Linked DNA regions of Homo sapiens: region 1 is linked to region 2. Evidence: promoter capture Hi-C in 16 types of primary human blood cells and fetal thymus (Javierre and others, 2016). All regions are on one chromosome and are shown on one strand. Each heading gives the region's core, a stretch centred on a gene start or on the middle of the fragment in contact. The rest is flanking DNA. Distances are from core to core; before and after follow the strand shown. Region 1 overlaps PTK2B (protein tyrosine kinase 2 beta). Region 2 holds the start of BNIP3L (BCL2 interacting protein 3 like).

Evidence for each region. Contacts are between HindIII fragments. The CHiCAGO score rates a contact against its expected background, and 5 or more counts as called.
Region 1: a contact is called between a fragment that was not itself captured here and the fragment with the promoter of BNIP3L in region 2, in 1 of 17 cell types (neutrophils). The highest score is 6.9, in neutrophils.

The regions. Positions count from the first base shown.
Region 1 is chr8:27,391,095-27,394,613 of GRCh38, forward strand. All of the region lies in intron 1 of PTK2B (protein tyrosine kinase 2 beta), which reads left to right. Among named protein-coding and RNA genes, the nearest start is that of MIR6842, 41 kb to the right of the region's middle. RefSeq lists enhancers at 1,635-1,764, 2,077-2,216. The HindIII fragment of the contact is 4,590 bases long and covers 1-3,519 here.
Region 2 is chr8:26,381,552-26,384,835 of GRCh38, forward strand. It overlaps BNIP3L (BCL2 interacting protein 3 like), which reads left to right and starts at 1,503. Exons shown (of 6, transcript NM_004331.3): 1 at 1,503-1,679. The coding sequence starts at 1,580. It also overlaps the pseudogene SDAD1P1. RefSeq lists enhancers at 1-1,179, 1,153-1,452 and a silencer at 1,663-2,252. The HindIII fragment of the contact is 3,600 bases long and covers 682-3,284 here.

The sequences.
Region 1 (3,519 bases), core at 69-2,568, 1.0 Mb after region 2:
CTTGAGGTGAAGTTTCGCTCTTTTCCCCCAGTCTGGAGTGCAATGGTGCAATCTCGGCTCGGTGCAATCTCGGCTCACTGCAAGCTCCGTCTCCCGGGTTCAAGGGATTCTTTTGTCTCAGCCTCCCGAGTAGCTGGGATTACAGGCACGTGCCACCACACCCAACTAATTTTTGTATTTTTAGTAGAGAAGGGGTTTCACCATGTTGATCAGGCTGATCTCAAACTCCTGATTTCAAGTGATCTGCCCACCTCAGCCTCCCAAAATGCTAGGATTACAGTCGTGAGCCACTGCACCCAGCCAGGAACAGAACTTTCAGTCCTCAAGACCATGCATTTTATGTTTGGGACTCTCAGCATCCCCTCTGGTGTCTGCCTCCCCAAGAGGCTAAGCTGTTTACTGAACACAACATGTGTAACATTACCCTACAATGTCTTCAAAGGCAAGAGTTAAGTTTTCCTGTGATATTTATTCCTGTAACCCTAGCATCTCCCCTGTGCCAGGGGCACAGTACTAGGTGCAGTTACAACCTGGTGCATCTGGAGGGGACGTAAATGCTGCTTCAGTTCCCCCTCCTGCAGGCAGGTCAATGTCTTGCCATTCAGGAAGAGCATAATTTATTTTCTTCCTGAAGATCTTAAGAACTCAGAGATTGTCCATCCTCCTGTAGTACCCTTTGCAGATTTTGGCCAAGAAGTTCTTACAGACAATCAGAAGTTTTCCTGTTTTAATTTGAGCCCATTTCTTGTGTTTGTTATTCTTTGACTTTGATTGTGGCAGATTTGGGGGCCAGGAGGCAAACCGAAGCCCAGGATGGCTCAGAGCCAGGGTTTTCACTGGTGCCACAGGATGTAGTCTCCTCTGACTCTGCTCCGACGGTCTGGGGCAGACCAGGAAGCAGGGAGGACAGAATGCCAGGGCTTGGAGAGCCAGGAAGGTCTGGAGAAAGGGGCAGAGTTTTTGGCTCATGAGTTGAGCATCAGAGGATTTTGTGATCATTAAAGGCCAGAGATAGGCTATTGACGAGTAGTTCAAATAATCAGACAATATTTAGAGGCGTGAACAAGTTCTATCATCAAGAAGAAGAGCTGGAGTCAGCAGATTGTTCTCATCTCTTCCCAACTCAGCATTCAGTGGTGATGTGCATTGGTACCTGAAGGTCAGTCATGGTGGGAATTTTTACACTACGGAAATTGGCAAGTTCTACAAAGCGAGCTTTTTTTTTTTTTTTTCTGGAGCACTACTGACAGGAGGAGCAAGATACAGGGAATACAGGTCATCAGACAAGATTTTGGAAAAAAGGCAAGTGAAAATAGTCATGATGATAGAGCCTTTCACTGGTGTCCCACTTTATTGCTTACGAGGAACTCTCACTTATGTTTTCTCACTTCATCTTCACCACCCTTCTATGAGGAAAACAGGGTAGGCAGCATTACCCTACTTTATAGGGGAGGAAAATGAGGCTGGGATAGGTAAAGTTACTTGCACAAGATTTTAGAGCCAGTCAGAAAATGAGCTGGGAGCAGAACACAGGCAGGGTGAGCGCAAGGGAAGATGGCATGGAATTGAGAGCTATGTTCTCTCAAGAACCTGAAGAGGGGTGGCAGATGCCTTCCTTTCATGGAACCGTTCATTTACTTTGCTTCAAAGAGTTCTGAGTGTTCATTACAGATCTGTGTCTACAGCTCAGAGTTTTGGGTGCACTTGAGGAAGTTGCCATGTGTCAATAGAGACATGGGCACCACCTTCCTGGGCCTGAGGCTTTTGATCAAACCTATATTCTAGTGTTGAGTCCGTCTAGGACCTCTCAAGACAAAGTCCTGGCACAAGAAGGGTGATTATCTCTAAGCCAGGAGAGGTTCTGGATTCTTCACTGACTGGGAATATTCGATGCTAATTGTCATCTTTATCTTTCGTGGAGTTTGTGCCGCCCTTAGGGGATTTCACCTTCTTCCAAGGCAGCTGGGGAAGTGGGAGAAACTGTGGGTTTTGATTAAAACCTGGTTTGGGATCTAAGTTTGCTACTTAGCAGGCATGAATCCTTGACCAAATGGCTTAGACCTTTTTGAGTGTGTCACCATCTGTAAAATGGCCATCTTCACTCCTGCCCACCTCCCAGGATTGGGCAGCAGATTGTTGTGCAAAGAACTTGTGTTTCTGTATAGATTTTTAAATTGTAATTACTTTTGGAATGAGCATCCACAGCAGATGTTTCTGCTGCAAAGGGCTAAAGGGAGAACTGAGGAACTTGCATCAGGCTGAAGGTAGAGGTAGATTCTGGGTGACAGAAATGACTGCTGAAATATTTCTCCTTGAGCTATGTTGGTGACTGCAGTTAGTGGCTCTTGAATCAGGGGCCAAGGGAGAGTGAGGAAGATAAGACACCAGAGTCCTCCAAGCACGCTGATGATGTGTCTGGGTGGGCTGCATTGGGTCTGATGTACAGTGTGAATCTTTCTCTTTGGTCAGGACCGATATGGGAGTTGGCTCCTGAGTGGGCTAGACCCTGCCCAGCCAGGCTGCGGAATGGGAGGACAACTATCAGGGTGTGGTTTCTCATTGCTACATTTTTTTCTTAATAGACTATTTTTAGAGAAGTTTTTGTTTCACAGCAAAATTGAGCCGAAAGTGCAGAGTGTTCCCACATGCACCCTGCCCTGACACAAGCACCGCTTCCCCCACTATCAACATCCCTCACCCCCCAGAGTGGCGCATTTGTCACAGTCCATGAACCTGCGTGGACACATCATGATCGCCAAAGATGTCCAGGGGCCTCAGGGCCATAGGCTCACTAGATACAGTATATCCTGAAGCTGGGACCTGCTGTATGTGTGTTGCCTCCATAGCTGCATATACAGTCACCTGTCACTTAAGGGTAAGGCTGCATTCTCAGAAATGCATCATTAGGCAGTTGTGTGAACATCAGAGTACTTAGAGAAACCCAGATGCTACAGTCTACTACACACCTGGACTATTGCTCCTACAGACCTGTACAGCAGATTACTGTACTGAATACTGCAGGTAATTATAACACAATTGAGGGTATAAATACCCTAGATCCCTCACTCTCTGGGTTGGGTACATTCTGTCCTGGTTCCTAGAGTTTCCAGCAGGATTAAATGGCAGTTGCCCAAGTGATCACTTACTTGATCACTCTTTTTGACTGTTTTCCCTTCCCTATCATCATTTCTCTGGTTTACTTACACAAACCTAGATGGTACAGCCTAGACTATATGGTATAGCACATGGCTCCTACAACCCTATACAGCAAGTTACTGTACTGAATGCTGTAGGCAATTGTAACACAATGGTAGGTATTTGTGTATCTAAACATAGGAAAGGTACAGTAAAAATACAGTGTAAAAGATAAAAAATGGTGCACCGGTCTAGGGCACTTACAGTGAATGGAGCTTGCAGAACCGAAAGTTGCTCTCGGAATCTGCGAGTGAGTGTGAGTGAATGTGATGGCACAGGACATTACTATGCACTACTGTAGACTTTATAAACACGGTGTACTTA
Region 2 (3,284 bases), core at 253-2,752:
TTTAATAAAACTCAGATGGCCAGCAGCCGCCAATCCCTACCAGCTGCGGCTTGAACTCCTGCTTCCGGGTATGACCGGAAACAGCACTCAATCTATTAATAGAGTTCATTTCTGACCAAAATCTTAAAAGAATTTGCAAAGGGATTTGACAAATCAATCCTTAAAAAAAACCTTTTAGCATGGACTTTTTCAAATATATTAAAAAATTAGAGGAATACTTTAATGTATTACATAGCTTCAATAATTACCAACACAAGGTCAATCTTGGACAAGTCCATTTTTAAGTTCATCTGAAGAGTAACTAGCCATTAACATCTGAAAAAGACAAAGGAAGAGAAACTTTAATAGTTATCTAACAGAGGTATTGCAGATAGCCCTGAAACAGACTCACATTTTTGTGGTCATTCAGAGAGTGACAAAGGTGCAATTTCAAATCAGTGTAGAAAGGATGGCTTAAAATTAATATTATTAGGTCAATGGGCTACAAAATTGGGAAGAATTGAAGTTAAATAATTTACAGCATATGGAAAATAAATTTCAGATGGATTAGAGCTCTAAATGTAAAGTTAAGCCTATAAGAAAATTAGAAAAAGTTATAAGGGAATTATAGATTAGTAATCTTGGTGTGACTGTCTCCCCAAGCCATGTAAGAATGATAAATCTGATTACATGAAAACCTTAAGCTTCTACAGAGTGAAAAAAACAAATTAAAAGACAAGTTAGAGACTGCGAGAAACATATGTCACTCATAAATCAGACCAAGGAGACTGGACGAAGACATGGAGATGTGAAGTAGGAGGTGTGCTCAGGAACATAGTTTAATGTCATCCACGTACAGGATAAACGGCTTCCCACGTCATGTCCCAGAAATCGATTAGTCGATGGGATTTGGGTGAGTACTTTCTTCTCTCTGTTTTCCTGAATTTTTCTTTTTTCTTTCTTCCCCTTTCTTCTTTCTCTTTTTTTCAGAATGATGGTGTGTTTGTAATCGACATTTTAAAAATTCTGTAACAATTAAATTTGGGGGCGGCCTTCCCTTGTTTCCCGTATGGAGTGTTGATGTTTCAGCAGCTTTATTTGGAGTTTACACGTGGAGGCACCTGGGTTTGGGGATTCCTTTGTGTCCCCAAGACACCTATTGCAGAAGTGAGTCCTAAGAGGTAGAAAACAGATGCGTGCGCAGGGCTGGGTGAAGCACTGTGGAGCCTGTGTGAGAGGAGGCACGGGCGCGAACACAGGAGCGCACTTCCTCATTCCGTTTCTCCTCATCCTCTCTCCCACTGCCACTGGCATCACTCATCCCATCCGGTCATCCCAAGTCACACGCAAGAGTTCGTTCCCGGCGCGCGCGTCAGCCTGACTCGAGCGTCTCCACGTCCGGGGCCCGCAGGGGAGCGCCCCTGCCCCGTCCGGTCGCTTGTTGTGTTGTCATCACGTGGCCTGGGCGGGCCCTGACGTCAGGGGCAGGGGAGGGACGGCGCAGGCGCAGAAAAGGGGGCGGCGGACTCGGCTTGTTGTGTTGCTGCCTGAGTGCCGGAGACGGTCCTGCTGCTGCCGCAGTCCTGCCAGCTGTCCGACAATGTCGTCCCACCTAGTCGAGCCGCCGCCGCCCCTGCACAACAACAACAACAACTGCGAGGAAAATGAGCAGTCTCTGCCCCCGCCGGCCGGCCTCAACAGTGAGTGCGGGGCCGAGGCTCTGTGAAGGGGATGGGGGAGGAGGAGCAGCCCCGGCCGCCGCCACCGGCGCGGCGCGGGAGGCGGGAGGAGAAGGCAGCTCATTGGCTCAGGCATGGGATGTCCAGGTGACTGACAGCTCCCGTCCCCTGTCAAGAGGAGGGGCGCCTGCCTTGCTCCGGGCCTCTCTGTTGCCTCCTGGGGTCTTGGGCCCGGGGCCGTTTGGGCTCGCGGTCCGGGAGCGGCGCGGGTAGCGCGGATCCCCCTGGTGCGGGGGGTGGTCCCCAGCAGCGGAGCCGGGCGGGGCGGGGCGGGGGCGGGCCTGGGGGGCGGGGAGGCCGGGTGGGCGGAGCGGGCCGCGGAGGGGACGTGGGCCGGGATGGGGACGTGCGGCGGGGACGCCGGGGGATGGACGCGCGGGAGCGGGGCGGGGCGGGCGGCTGCCGCGGGACGTGTCGGGGATCAGGTGTGCGGGGCTCGCGGGCGGGCAGCGTCTGGCGGGCGCGGGAGCCCCCCAGCGAGCATTCCTTTGTTGCCACACGTTTGTCAGGAAAATTCATTTGCTCGTCTAGGGTTGGCTTCAGTCACGTGTGGGGTGAGAGGCTGTGCCTTGCTTCTCCTTTTTCCTTTTTTATTTTTTTATTAGATTTCTCGAAGTTGCCCAAGTGATTTTTTTTTTTTTAAAGCGATGGGTTGTGCGCCCAGTAAAGCTGAGAGCAGCCTCCTGAACCACCCAAGATTGCACACGTCAGGGAGTCTGGGGCCATGCATTTAAAGAAACGGAATTAAAAACGCACTCGGGCAGTTGAAAGTTAACGGACGAGGCTGATAGACAACCCAGGCCAGGGTCTTTTCATAACATTCCGCTGCCCAGACATCTTGTCCTCAGATTGTTCCTAGTCGTGAGAACCGGGAGCCTTCTTGGAAGGGTTCTTGCCTAACCTTTCTTTAATTCAACTCTTGGGAAAGAGGTAATGGGAGCAGTGAGCATATGGCCAGATGAAGTCTTTTCAAAACCACTTGGATGCTTAAAGGTCATGCAGTATCTTTCGTAAGAGGGAGGTGCTTCCAGTGTGGCCTGAAGATTATTTTAGGGAAGAGAGTTTCAGCCCTCACCAGGTAGCGATGGAGTTTGGAGATTTTAAGATGGATGCTGCTGCTCCAGGTTTTGATGGGTTAATTCCCAAAACCTTTAAGTGTCATATATTCCAGAATGTAAGATGGTTATATTATTTCCCACAGTAAATTAGGATGAATGTATGAGTCTTTAAACGTTACTTGTATCACATATTCCTATGCAATTTTAAGTTATTTGCCCATGTTTAGCATACTGTCTTAGATTTTAGAATGGGAAGAAACTTCAGAGCTAGCTAACTGCCTCCTGTTGTTTGCCTGTAGAGAAACAGGTCTAGAGTAAATGGCCTTGTCCAAGTTCACAACCGGCTGGGAGCAAAGCAGAGGTTCTCATGTTCAGCCTGTCTACTGCTCTTTTGAGGACATTTTTTTTTTTTTTTTTTTTTTTTTGAGGTAGAGTCTCGCTCTGTCTACAACCTCCGCCTCCCAGGTTCAAGCGATTCTTCTGCCTCAGCCTCCCGAGTAGCTGGGAC